Linked DNA regions of Homo sapiens: all the other regions are linked to region 1. Evidence: promoter capture Hi-C in human tissues and cell types (Jung and others, 2019). All regions are on one chromosome and are shown on one strand. Each heading gives the region's core, a stretch centred on a gene start or on the middle of the fragment in contact. The rest is flanking DNA. Distances are from core to core; before and after follow the strand shown.

Region 1 (3,493 bases), core at 532-3,031:
ATTGTGGTATGATCACAAAGAGCAAGGCAAAAGAATCTACACTCAATGACATGAAGGAATTTCATGAAAGTAATGTTGAAGACAAAGCCAGTTTTTTAAAAAAGTACTTACAGTATGATTGCTTTTATATAAATATGCAAAACAGAAGCAAGATGACAAAGGGAGTGTCATCATCTAGAAAGTGGTGCGATAAGATGCACAGCTAGTGCTGCCCTGTGACTCTAACTCCTTCAAAAGTCCGCCTGTGGCAAACGCGGCTACCCTCCCAAGCCAAGATAAAGTATAATTGGAGTGCCGAGGCTAAAAAATATACCAGTGGGACTGGTCGAATGAGGCACTTAAAAATTGTGTACAGCAGGTTAAGGCATGGATTTTTTAAAGGAATGCCACCTAAACCCAAGAGGACAGCTGCTGCAGCATCCAGTTCATCTTAAGAATTTCAGGCCAGGTACGGTGGCTCACACCTGTAATCCCAGCACTTTGGGAGGCCAAGGCGGGTGGATCACTTGAGGTCAGGAGTTCGAGACCAGCCTGGCCAACATGGCGAAACCCTGTCTCTACTAAAAATACAATAATTAGCCGAGTGTGGTGGCGGGCACCTGTAATCCCAGCCACTCGGTAGGCTGAGGCAGGAGAATCACTTGAACCCAGGAGGCGGAGGTTGCAGTGAGCCGAGATTGTGCCATTGCACTCCAGCCTGGGTGACAGAGCAAGATTCTGTCTAAAAAAAAAAAAAAAAAAAAAAATTTTAGATTAGTCACACAATAAATGTTCTGATTTAAAAAAAAAAAGGCAAAACTCTCCTTTGCTGTTAGAATTCAGGAAAGGTCAGTTATGAGTGAGGAGTGGGTTTAGTGACTGAAAGGAAATAGGAAGGGGGAGTTTCTGGGAATATTGTAAAGTTTCTTGAACAGGGTGCTGATTACACATACAGATTTCAGTCTATGTATATATATTACACTTATTTCTTAAGTAATATATATTACTTACAAAAGGTGTACAATTTTTCTGTATGTGTATTACACTTAGTTTTTTTTAAGTAATATATCTTGAGAGAAAGCTAGAAAATAAGACGTTTAAAAATTTTTGAATCACCTACAATCCCACTATCCAGTGAAAACGACTGTTAACATTTTGGACTTTTTTCCAGTTCTTTTTTTCAAGCCAGTGTGCACACGCTCTCTCCTCCCCTCCACTCATACACATAAATTTTGCTAAATTAGGTTCATTCTCATTTAGTTTTATTTCTGCTGTATTTTTACATAAAGTTAAACTATACCATTCAATATCCTTTGCAAGCATTTTATAAGCAGCTGAAACATACTCCATTGAATGTATGTGCTCCAGTACATTTAATCAGTTGCCCATTGCTGTTTTCTTATTAAAAAATAATCAGTCACATGATGTCTCTCTCTCTCACACACACCCCTACACCTCTAGACATTCTTTAAGCTCTGCATTCGTTCTCTATTTCTCTCCAGAAAGGTTGTACCGATTTACAGTTCCACTGGCAAATGTGAGGGCTCCTTGTATCGCAGTCCAACCCCAGCTCATTTCTTAGTATAGGTTTGTTTTTAGGATGGTCGAGCTCAAAGCAGAACTAAGGGATCTGCCGTTTTGTACACGGCCGAGGCGCGCGGCTCCCTGGGCCTGGAACGCGCTCTGAGCGCGCCGGTCCCTTCCAGGTTGCGCGGGCTCCGGACGAGACCCAGCCCAGCCGGGCAGCCCCGCGCGCTCCCGGGTCCCGCCGGCCTCGCGCCGCCCGGTTGCCGTGGGAACCACGGAGCCTCGGAGCGCCCGCAGACTAGCCCGTGTCTGAGGGGGTGAGGGATACTGAGGCCCAGGCATGGAGCTGCCGGATCCGGTGCGCCAGCGGCTGGGAAACTTCAGCCGGGCCGTGTTCAGTGATTCCAATCGGACCGGTCCAGAGTCCAATGAGGGTCCGGGTGAGTGACCGAGGCCCGGTGCAGGGGGTGTGGCCTGCCGAGGGCTTGGCGTGGATTTTGGAGCGTCCAGAATTTGCCCGTACCTAAAATGGCGATGTCGCCTTCAGCCAGTTCTCCGCAGTGCGGGAGAGCGCCTTGGAGGAGGGGCCGGGCCGGACAGGGAGCTGAGGCGCTGGCGGCCTCCCGCCCCCGGCCGGGCCTGGTCTCCGCGTGGTGCTCCCTGGCCAGCTTGTTGCAAGCGCGGCAGCTGACGTGGGGCCGATCTCTGTGCCGCGCAAGGCCCATCATTGTCCCGGAGAAACCCCAAAAATAAAAAGATAAAAGCCGCCCTTGCTGCACAGGCTGGTCCCCCGCGCGCCGCGAGAGCGAAGGCCCAAGTTGTTTTGCCTCTGCGGCGCCCGCCCCGGCTTTTCTGTCCAGGATGACGAGGAATAGCCCAAGCAATCCCACCTCCCCCGTCCCCACCCCCACCCCAGGGAACAAATTTGCCTTTTCCCTTTTCCTAGCAGAACAAGTATGTTCCTAAGCAAGGCCATTTTCTCGTAGAAGACATTAAAAAAAAAAGTTAATGAGTCCTTTCAAACCACCATCCACTCCCACTGGCATGTGCCATACTAGCCGGGCGTTCAACAAAACTCACCCCTTCCCTGCCTTCTCCTCCTCCCCTATATGTAACTCTTATCATAAGGTAACAAAATACCATGATGCTTCTGCGTCCTTTAACTTGATGTCAAGTGATAACACAGTTTCCTCCAGAACAGTTTCCTCCTCCTACATCATGATGGTAGACAACACACTGTCAACCAAACCCATGTGGTTTTCATCATTCAACTCTGCTGGGAAATATCAATCTTTTCCTCTGCTTGGTTTTAGAGAATTTTTAAAAGGGACAGAGAAAAGTAAAGGCAGTTCCCAAAGCTGCATTTTGTCACCTTGATCACTTGCCTATTTCCCAAATGTAGGCCTTTATGATTTAGGATGTACAGAGAAAAATGTGAAAAAAATAGGTTTTCACGTTTCTGGTTCCAAGGATGAGGCTTAATGAGCACTAACGTCTGATAATACAAGGTAAAAAGACGTTTTCTGAAAAGGACCAGATAGTAAATATTTTAGACTTTGTAGGCCATATGGTCTCCACGGCAGCCATTGACAATAGTTATTGAATAGGCAGGGCTGTGTTCCAATAAAACTTTATGGACACTGAAATTTGTATTTCATATGGATTTCACGTGTGGAAAAAATATTACTTTTTTAACCATTTAAACGTGAAAAAACATTTTTAGCTCATTGACTGTACAAAAACAGGCAGCTGGCCAGTTGTTTACCTATCCCTGATTTATATTGTATGTTTTAATTTAAATTCCATTTACAGAACTCAACTTGAACTTTTGCAAAATTTAGTAAGTTTATGTCTTACGCTTTTAAGGTTCATTTACATATTAATTTGATTTTCATTTCCATGATTATAAGTTTGATCTGCTGAAATATGGACATAGCATAACCTTTAAGATGTTAACACACAATACTTCTAACATGAAAACCATTCT
Region 2 (3,493 bases), core at 474-2,973, 190 kb before region 1:
TTTAATTTTAATTTATTTATTGGCTACATGTGGCTGGTAGCTACCATAATGGACAGTGCAAACTTACATAGTACTGTGGAGGTTCTGGATGCCCAACACAATTTCCAGACACCCAGAGGGGTACAGAGGCACTGCACAGCCACCAGACCAAAAGAGTCCTTGCTGATGATCCAAAATCAACCCAGCAACAATCCATGGAGCTGGCTGCTAATGAAGATGAATATTAGAACTCTAAGAGGAGCCAGCATAGTAGATGAGAAGCAAGGATTAAATGCCCCATCCCCTTCCCCCAACATAGTGATGCTATGTAAGCCCCCTCAATTGAGATGCAGTTCCTGCCAAATTGACTATGATTAAGTGTTTGCCACCCCTTGTGAAATCAAAGCTTGAAATAGAAATTAGGTTGAGTAATGGGAAAATAAAACTGTGTTTCTTGCCAACCTGAATTTCTTTAGATTGAGATTTATGCCTGTTATATAACCTTAAATAATAACTCTTAATAAAATAATTTAAAACCTATGTTTATTCTCTTAAAAGGTGGCCTTTTTTTTTTACTCTATCATTATAGGACCCAAGTTCTTTGGTTGACATAAAAGCTTAGAAAAGCTGCATTAGAAAACCATCTTTCAATTAGGAACAGTATTCTTTGGTGAAATTGTTTCTGTTGCAGTTACCCATGAACGAATATTTGAAGTTAGTCATAATGAAGCTTTGCACATTGAACCTAAGATTGCACTAATTCTAGGACCTCAGTTGTATACTAAAAATACAATTTTGTCCAGCTCCACAGCATCTAGAAAAGACCAACATGGGCTTGGTTGCTAGAGGCAGAGGAGCATTCTTGACTTCCTTGAAACTCAGGTAGAGACTGAAGCAAATCTACAGATTCTATCCACTGGTGATTCGGCAGGACTAACTTCTGTTGTTAATCTGGAGCAACACAGTGAATGACTAGAAGCTTAGAAATCTTTATATTGCAGGCAACAATGATATTCAAAGTGTGGACATTCAGTGTGTTAACAACATGGCATAGGCATTGATCAGTTAGAATGGATGACAACTGTAAACGTTGGCCTAGTTGTCCCTTTGTGGACTAACTAAATACCAGCCCTAACTCTAGAGTGCCCTTGCTGGTCTATAGCATCCTCTCAATCTAAGCCTTCTAACTACTTAAGATACTTTCATAATGGTGAAGTCCCAGTCCACAAATGTGTATGTCAAGGTAAAAGCAGCTAGCTGAGATAATTTACATATTGCAAATAAGTGGGCCATTACTGGGATTATAGCAGCAAAGATTTGAGTTGGAATTAAGACCTCAGCTGAGAAAGTCATTGCTAAATTCAATAAATTCATCTCCTATAAAATCAGCAGGGATTCTTGACCAAGACTTACTGGTCATTTCCCATGAAATGTTAAGAGCCTTTGGCAAATTATAAGGGGTAGACTGACCTTTGCTTCACTTCTTCTGTGTTTTCAAAAACTGGAAAAAAAATCCAGGTAACCAGATACAGCATCCAGCCAGTGTTTTCCTCTGAATAATTCATAGATGATTATATTTGTATGAGCAAGATAATATAATTAATATCATTCTGAAATAATAAGGCTAGACAGGAAAGGCAAAGAAAAGCTGGTAGAAATTCATAATCTTGGAGGGCATTGACTACAACCCTTGTGGTGTAAAACCAAAGCACTTCCATCCCATACAGTACAAAGAACACACACACAAAAAGCAAAATTTCAAAGCAAGCTGAAAGCAGGCAAAACTCCACTTACCAGGGCACTGGGCATGAGCCAAGGGAAAGTAGCCCTGTTGCTGAAGCTTGTCCCAGATGAGTAGAGCTGGAAAATAAACCCAGCTTTCAAAGGGCAGGATTAACTCATGCACAGTTTGGGCAATCTTCTGGGCAGGGCAAGATAGAGAAAAATTCCAGGGCAAGGGCAATAACATGAGAGCCAGAGAGAGCTGCAATATTGTTCCAGGCCTCTCTTTTCACAGCAAGTCACCCAATTAGTGACTGGGCTTACAGTGATCAGAACGTAGCCTGGGAAGCAAAGATGACTTTGTGAGAGCCGCTGGATATTTCTTCATATTCTGTCACAACTTTTGGATGCTATTTTAAAATATTCCCAATAATGCATCATTGATCTCTTTCTCCAAGAAAAGAAATTCAAGTGTTGAGCAAGTCAGGTTTTTGTGCCATAGTTCAATCTTCCGAAGAAATCCTGCTATCTTTAAAATTTTAAAAATCACAATATTTTATCCCTGAAATAAGTTGAGTCTGTTTTAGATATTGAACATAGTACTGAGTTACCTATATTGAGAGAGCCCCTTGAAACAACTGTCTTGCATTATCAGTGTCCCATTTCTCATTTCAAAAATGTGTGAGCACCTGCTAACCAGCATACTTCAGTGTGGAAAAGGAGAGTGTTATACTTGTGCATGTTTCTTCACATAACACATGCTAAAAAGAGCATATTTAAAGGTCACAACTTGATTATATTTGAAATATTCACTCTTTTCTTGAACAATTAAAGCAAGAATAGGAGGCATATTGTTAACTGTTCAACTTCTCTTATTCTTGTAATAACACTCTTTCTAGCTATTCACAAAACTACCTTGTGCCAATCAGTTTGTTTGCCATGTGTCTTGTCCAGCCTACAGCTGAACAAGATAACAATTACCAAAATCCTGCAGTGACTTGTCAGTGATAAAAAGACCAACTTGTTGAGTACTTCTCTCTAACACATATAGAGCTGTAACATGAAATTGCTGCACAGCGTGTATAATGGGACCTGGTCTTCAACATTGTATGCTATGGATGTATGCCCAAGAATGTTACTGGATCAGTTTTGCCAATAGTTCATTCTGTTTTCTCTTATTAATTTCCCTTAATAATATCTTATTAACTTTCAGTTGACTTTGCAAGTTCTAAGGCAACAGGTTCAAGAGTACAACTTTGAATGATAGCTTTTTCATTTTGATTTTCTTTGATGATATTTTTAGTGAAAAATCTGTTAATTTATTAAGAAATATTCAGTGAATAATTATTAAGGTCAAAGCATTCTGGTAGGTATTGGGAATGCAGCACATAAAAAAGACAAAATCCCTGTCCTCCTGGAGCTCATATTTCTCTTCTATTAGAAGTCATTGTTTAGTATTTCCCTTAGAAAATTTCAGTTGATGAGAGGTGACCGTGCTTTGTTTAACAATGACAAAAAACCTGAGAAAAGTGTTATAAAAGACAATGTGCTGGGGACTAACATAAAAGGATCACCCACTCAATAAAATCCAATTATCAGATGTGTATTATTGTACTTCCAGCTCTTTCCTTTTGTTGTGGCTGCTTGTGCAAAGTCACATAGAGACTTGTCAGAACACATACAAATTTATAATCTATATTTGCACTGGAGTCCTGTTTACAATTTATGTTTTTAAAATTTGAATTGTAGTATTTACATTATTATTTTTATGATTTACTGAATAGAGACATTG
Region 3 (3,493 bases), core at 480-2,979, 160 kb before region 1:
GGCCTCAGTTTCTAGAACTTTTTCTTGCAGCATTGCACTGCAGAGGAAGAAGGAGGCAAAGTTTGTGAGTGTCAGCTTCCTGAACACTTTGACAATAAGAGCAAAAAGAAAATGATCAAGAAACTATAAGCAGAAGGTTCCTCCTCATCACAGCATTTCAGGAATAAAAAGAAAAAGATTTACTAAAATTAGCCACAGTGTTAAACCCTAAAGCAGAAAGCTTTAAATAAGGCAAATGGTCTAAATGCAGAGCTTCAGGCAACTTTATCAACTTCATGTTATACATCATAGCTAGCAAATTAATTATTCCCAGATGTTGGGATGAAGAATGCTGCTGAATTGTTTTGCTTCTCCAACTTTTCAGTATAAACACACACTCACAGGGTTACATTCCCTTTTTTGGCTCCCAACATGCAAGTAATTATACACTGTGCAGGATAATGTTGGATGAGCTCTCAAATGAATACCAAGCAAGTTCTGGGTTCTGTCAGCCTTTTGGATACCATGTCCACAAGCATTTTTTTCTGACAGTCTTTAGTAACAACTTGTAAACAAACTGTTTCTAGTTAAAAAAAATATTCAACAGCAGTACAACCTCATTTATAAATTATTCCAAACTCCTTTAGAGCTGGAGAGGGATAAATTCACCTTAAATATAGTGCAGCTCCTTTTTGCATCAAGAACAGTTTTTCTACAATCCTTGTGAGCAGGGCTCATAATTCATAATAGTTTTTATATTTTTACATTCCTTATGTTTTGCCAACATGTAAACAAAGAGAAGAAAAAAGCAGGTTATGAATCAAGTGTGAATTGAGAATGTGTTTAGGATTAAACACAGATTCTATGACCATGGCCAGAATGAAGAGAGTAAAGGGTCATATTTTCTAATCCAGCTCCAAAGTTTCATAGGACAAATTTCTGCTGTCAGGTGAGTCATGGAGGGATTTTTTAGGGGGCTACCTGAGGCCTTCACACTTCTTGGAATAAACAAACCTGATGAATTTGTCCTGGGTCGTCATATAATGAGGCACAGGTGTGTGTGTAAAATATAGAAGTGGGGGAGATAAAGACAACACAGGGAAAAACTTAGAAATGGTTAAAGAAAAAAAACACATTTTTTGCAGAAGGGAGAAGTTCTGTAGTTCTGCCAACTGCAACACAAATGACAGGAAAAGTTCAAGGAAAGTTGATATCTAAAAAGAAATAAATAAAAGGAAATTCAATGAGAAACAATATTCAGGTCAGGTCAAAGCCTAGAGAAAAATGCGCATTCAGAAGTGGGCTGCCATCCTGCTTTTTCTGAAGTGAACAGCTGCTGGGTATTGAAACCAGCCCTCACGGTTGGGTCCCTGCCACCATGGCAACACTCTGGTTTCTGAGCTGGAGTGGCCAAGGCACAATGGGGTGGTTCCATGGCCCAGAAGCACTCTAGCTACAGATTAGGTAGGTTGTGTGTGTGTTTTTTCCTTTGTGTATATTTGGGGGACTTTGATTCCTGGGTTTGTGTTCGGCTATTGGAAACTTTTCTAACCTATCATAAGCCCTGACCTAAGCAGCAAATTTTCATGCAAATAGCAGCATGGAAAGGAAGAACTGAGGTGTTCAACAGGCAAATAATGTATTTCCAGTCTCTTTTAAATGATTTCTTACAAATCTCTAGCAGGTTCTGGGCATTTGTAACTGGTCCCTTGCATTGTACCTTTAGGATGTTTTTTAAAATAGTGCTTAGCTTGCTTTTTATATTTTTAGTTTATAATAACACATGATCCTAAAAGGAAAAGCTATCATAATCTTGTAAACTGAAAAAGTTAGCGAATAAAGACTTTGATATTAAAAATATAGCCTATAGCTTATATATTATATATGCAGAGCTCCAATAATTAGCACATTCAACTGTTGAATTCACCATCACGGTTTCATTAGTATTGCAAGCTAAAAATTTTATCTACTAGTTAAGTATAAAGAAAATTCCAAAATAATAACCTCATAATGTAGCATAGTAAGTGATAGCATAGACTTTAGAGCCAAACTGCTTGAGTTCCAATCCTGGCATTTATTAGCTGTGTAATTTTGGGCAAGTTACTTAAACTGTCTATGACTTTATTTCCCCTCTATAGAATGATGACAAGAGTAATACCTTCCTAGTGAAGATGACTGTGAGTATTAAGTGAATTTATATTTGTAAAGTGCTTAAAATAGTGTTTGGTTAGTATCATGTAAGTGCTTAAAAATAAATAAGTAAATACATAAATAATTTAAAATTATTTTTTAAATAATTTAAACCTTTTTTGATAGTGGGAAATGCCACCTTTGGAATTCAGGACAGCACAGTATATTTCTATATCTATATTCCCACTCAGAAAATGTTAAACTTCTTATTTACATCTAAGACTTGTAACTCACTTGGAGTCATGCAAGGCTCCTTGAATTGATAAAGCAGCTTGTTTGTGAATTTAGCCAATTTGTAAGTGAGCAAGGGGGAGGGCTTTGAGAAATATATACTAGATCTTCTGATTCATTTAGATCCTTCAAATGCTTAAGTGTTCATTACAAGCACAAGGCACAGTGCTTGCTAAACTGAGCAAGCACAAGATGCCACCCCATGCTGAGATACCCATCGCTGTACTCTCCTAGCAGTAGCCAAGCAGTCTCAGCCTCCGAGGGATGGAAAGCCCAGCACTTTTTCACCTCCGTAACAGGTTGGGTTGTATCATTTCTAGCATGGCTTGTTCAAGGGCTTTCCATTTCATCCTAGATTTCCACTGGTACTGAAGAGCCCACTCATGTGCTCAGATGCACAATTTTCATGGTATCCATTCATATTAGGCCATGCCATTTCTTACAAAGTGTGGAAATGCATTATCTTCTGTTGTGGGGCTGCCTGAAACTGGCTCTGCTACACAATCCTGTTCTTCTGTTTACACGTCACTAGTTGAGTATGTGAAGACATTTTGTGGTTAGGTGTCAATGGTTGCAAAATGCTTTCACAAATCTTGTTAGGATATTTGGGTGCATTCCAAACAAATATGCTATTCCACTACCCAGAGGATCTATAACTTTTTGGAATCCAGTCTAGCTGGAGCTAAGAGGTTAACATTTTAGCCATTGTTTTCAAATTGAGTCACATATGTTCAGTTCTAAGAACAAGGATTAGAAGTCATTCTGGGACCTCAAAGAAAATCAACATCTATCTCAGTTTGCAAAATGGCAAAATTCTATTTGTATGTAATGAGGGTGTTTCCCCCTTTACAATTATTCAAAATGGGGTCACGTAAGCAAGGAAAAGTGAGTACATCTAAGCATAGGGCTGAGTGCTGAAAGGACAAAGACTGAAATTAGTAGGTCACCTCAGAGTTTAACATATATCCTGTTTTCTAAGAAAACAAATGTACTATCAGATCCAGTAAAACTTTCTGTGGAAAATATTTTGGAAGCCAGAAGCAAAATTAGAGAAAGGCAGTATTCCATAGTTAAAGGAAACAGAAGCTGCCAC
Region 4 (3,493 bases), core at 651-3,150, 130 kb before region 1:
AGCTAATTTTTTTTGTACTTTTAGTAGAGACAGGGAGCCAGGATGGTCTCGATTCCTTACCTTGTGATCTGCCCGCCTCAGCCTCCCAAAGTCCTGGAATTACAGGCATGAGCCACCACGCCCAGCCGATGATAGGGTCTTCCAAATATACAATCATGTCATCTGCAAACAGAGACAATATGACTTCCTCGCTTCCTATTTGAATACCTTTATTTCTTTCTCTTGCCTGATTGTCTTGGCCAGAACTTCCAATACTATGTTGAATAGGAGTGTTGAGAGAGGTCATCCTTGTCTTGTGCAGGTTTTCAAAGGGAATGCTTCCAGCTTTTGCCTATTCAATATGATACTGGCTGTGGGTTTGTCATTAATAGTTCTTATTATTTTGAGATATGTTCCATCAATACCTAGTTTATTGAGAGTTTTTAGCATGAACAGGGTGTTGAATTTTATTGAAGGCCTTTTCTGCATCTATTGAGATAATCATGAAGTTATTGTCATTGGTTCTACTTATGTGATGGATTACGTTTATTAATTTGCACATGTTGAATGAGCCGTGCATCCCCGGGATGAAGCCAACTTGATCTTGTTGGATAAGCTTTTTGATGTGCTGCTGGATTCAGTTTGCCAGTATTTTACTGATGATTTTCGTATCGATGGTCATCAGGGATATTGGCCTGAAATTTTCTTTTTTTGTTGTGTCTCTTCCAGGTTTGGTATCGGGATGATGTTGGCCTCATAAAATGAGTTAGGGAGGAGTCCCTCTTTTTCTATTGTTTGGAATAGTTTCAGAAGGAATGGTATCAACTCTTCTTTGTACGTCTGGTAGAATTTGGCTGTGAATCCATCTGGTCCTTGGCTTTTTTTGGTTGGTAGGCTATTAATTATTGCTTCAATTTCAGAACTTGTTATTGGTCTATTCAGGCATTCAATTTCTTCCTGGTTTAGTCTTGGGAGGGTGTATGTGTCCAGGAATGTATCAATTTCTTCTAGATTTTTGGTTTATTTGTGTAGAGGTATTCATAGCATTCTCTGATGGTAGTTTGTATTTCTGTGGGATCAGTGGTGATATCCCCTTTCTCATTTTTTATTGTATCTATTTGATTCTTCTCTCTTTTCTTCTTTATTTGTCTGGCTAGTGGTCCATCTATTTTGTTGATCTCTTCAAAAAACCAGCTCCTGGATTCATTGATTTTTTGAAGGGTTGTTCATGTCTCTATCTCCTTCAGTTCTGCTCTGATCTTTGTTATTTCTTGTCTTCTGCTATCTTTCGAATTTGTTTGCTCTTGGTTCTCTAGTTCTTTTAATTGTGATGTTAGGGTGTTGATTTTAGATCTTTCCCGCTTTCTCTGGTGGGCATTTAGTGCTACAAATTTCTCTCTAAACACTGCTTTGGCTGTGTCCCAGAGATTCTGGTACATTGTGTCTTTGTTCCTATTGGTTCAAATAACTTATTTATTTATGCCTTAATTTTGTTATTTACCCGGTAGTCATTCAAGAGCAGGTTGTTCAGTTTCCATGTAGTTGTGCAGTTTTGAGTGACCTTCTTAATCCTGAATTCTAATTTGATTGCAGTGTGGTCCGAGAGACTGTTTGTTATGATTTCCATTCTTTTGCATTTGCTGAGGAGTGTATTACTTCCAGTTGTGTGGTCAATTTTAGAGTAAGTGTTATGTGGTGCTGATAAGAATGTATATTCTGTTGATTTGGGATGGAGAGTTCTATAGATGTCGATTAGGTCTGCTTGGTCCAGAGCTGAGTTCAAGTCCTGAATATCCTTGTTAATTTTCTGTCTCATTGATCTAATATTGACAGTGAGGTGTTAAAGTCTCCCATCATTATTGTGCGAGAGTCTAAGACTCTTTGTAGGTCTCTAAGAACTTGCTTTATGAATCTGGATGCCACCGTATTGGATGAATATATATTTAGGATAGTTAGCTCTTCTTGTTGCATTGATCCCTTTACCATTATGTAATGCCCTTCTTTGTCTCTTTTGATCTTTGTTGGTTTAAAGTCTGTTCTATCAGAGATTAGGATTGCAATCCCTGCTTTTTTTTTTCTTTCGATTTGCTTGGTAAATATTCCTCCGTCCCTTTATTTTGAGCCTATGTGTGTCTTTGCATGTGAGATGGGTCTACTGAATACAGCATGGTAATGGGTCTTGACTCTTTATCCAATTTGCCAGTCTGTGTCTTTTAATTGCAGCATTTAGCCCATTTACATTTAAGGTTAATATTTTTATGTGTGAATTTGACTCTGTCGTTACGATGCTAGCTGGTTATTTTGCCCACTAGTTGATGCAGTTACTTCATAGTGTTGATGATCTTTACAATTTGGCATGTTTTTACAGTGGCTGGGACCGGTTTCTCTTTTCCATATTTAGTGCTTCCTTCAGGAGCTCTTGTAAGGCAGGCCTGGTGGTGACAAAATCTCTTAGCATTTGCTTGTCTGTAAAGGATTTCATTTCTCCTTCGCTTACGAAGCTTAGTTTGGCTGGATATGAAATTCTGGGTTGAAAATTTTTTTAAGAATGTGGAATATTGGCCCCCACTCCCTTCTGGCTTGTAGGGTTTCTGCTGAGAGATCTGCTGTTAGTCTGATGTGCTTCCCTTTGTGAGTAACCTGACCTTTCTCTCTGGCTGCCCTAAACCTTTTCTTCCTTTATTTCAACCTTCATGAATCTGACAATTATGTGTCTCAGGGTTGCTCTTCTTGAGGAGTATCTTTGTGGTGTTCTCTGTATTTCCTGAATTTGAATGTTGGTCTGCCTTGCTTCGTTGGGGAAGTTCTCCTGGATAATATCCTGAAGAGCATTTTCCAACTTGACTCTATTCTCCCCGTCACTTTCAAGTATACTAATCAGACGTAGGTTTGGTCTTTTCACATAGTCCCATATTTCTTGGAGGCTTTGTTTGTTTCTTTTCATTCTTTTTTCTCTACTCTTGGTTTCACACTTTATTTCATTAAGTTGATCTTCAAACTCCAATATCCTTTCTTCCACTTGATCGATTTGGCTACTGGTACTTGTGTATGCTTCACAAAGTTCTCATGCTGTGTTTTTCAGCTCCATCAGGTCATTTATGTTCTTCTCTAAACTGGTTATTCAGTTAGCAATTCCTCTAACCTTTTTTCAGGTTCGTAGTTTCCTTGCATTGGGTTAGAACATGCTTCTTCAGCTTGGAGGAATTTATTACCCACCTTCTGAAGCCTACTTCTGTCAATTAGTCAAACTCATTATCCGTCCAGTTTTGTCCCTTTGCTGGTGAGGAGTTGTGATCCTTTGGAGGAGAATAGGTATTCTGGTTTTTGGAATTTTCAGACTTTTTGCACTGGTTTCTCCCCATCTTCGTAGATTTATCTACCTTTGGTCTTTGATGTTGGTGACCTTTGGATGGGGTTTCTGAGTGAACGTTCTTTTTGTTGATGTTGATGCTATTCCTTTCTGTTTGTTAGTTTTCCTTCTAACAGGCCCCTCCTCTGCAGGTCTGCTGGAGCT

Evidence for each region. Contacts are between HindIII fragments. The study calls those that stand out against the background at their distance.
Region 2: a contact is called between a fragment that was not itself captured here and the fragment with the promoter of TMEM17 in region 1, in 2 of the 25 tissues and cell types used here (H1 embryonic stem cells and liver).
Region 3: a fragment that was not itself captured here is called in contact with the fragment with the promoter of TMEM17 in region 1 in 2 of the 25 tissues and cell types used here (adrenal gland and hippocampus).
Region 4: a contact is called between a fragment that was not itself captured here and the fragment with the promoter of TMEM17 in region 1, in 1 of the 25 tissues and cell types used here (H1 embryonic stem cells).

What each region holds. Positions count from the first base shown.
Region 1 is chr2:62,504,483-62,507,975 of GRCh38, reverse strand. TMEM17 (transmembrane protein 17) reads left to right here and starts at 1,781. Exons shown (of 4, transcript NM_198276.3): 1 at 1,781-1,946. The coding sequence starts at 1,847. It also overlaps the pseudogene RPL37P13. RefSeq lists silencers at 1,601-1,870, 2,081-2,250, 2,588-2,882. The HindIII fragment of the contact is 10,369 bases long and covers 1-2,647 here.
Region 2 is chr2:62,697,230-62,700,722 of GRCh38, reverse strand. It overlaps a transcript of EHBP1 not described here. Among named protein-coding and RNA genes, the nearest start is that of EHBP1, 6.7 kb to the left of the region's middle. The HindIII fragment of the contact is 3,479 bases long and covers 1-3,462 here.
Region 3 is chr2:62,660,558-62,664,050 of GRCh38, reverse strand. No RefSeq gene overlaps it. Among named protein-coding and RNA genes, the nearest start is that of EHBP1, 43 kb to the left of the region's middle. RefSeq lists an enhancer at 1,419-1,468. The HindIII fragment of the contact is 6,067 bases long and covers 1-3,493 here.
Region 4 is chr2:62,634,160-62,637,652 of GRCh38, reverse strand. No RefSeq gene overlaps it. Among named protein-coding and RNA genes, the nearest start is that of EHBP1, 70 kb to the left of the region's middle. The HindIII fragment of the contact is 4,331 bases long and covers 1-3,493 here.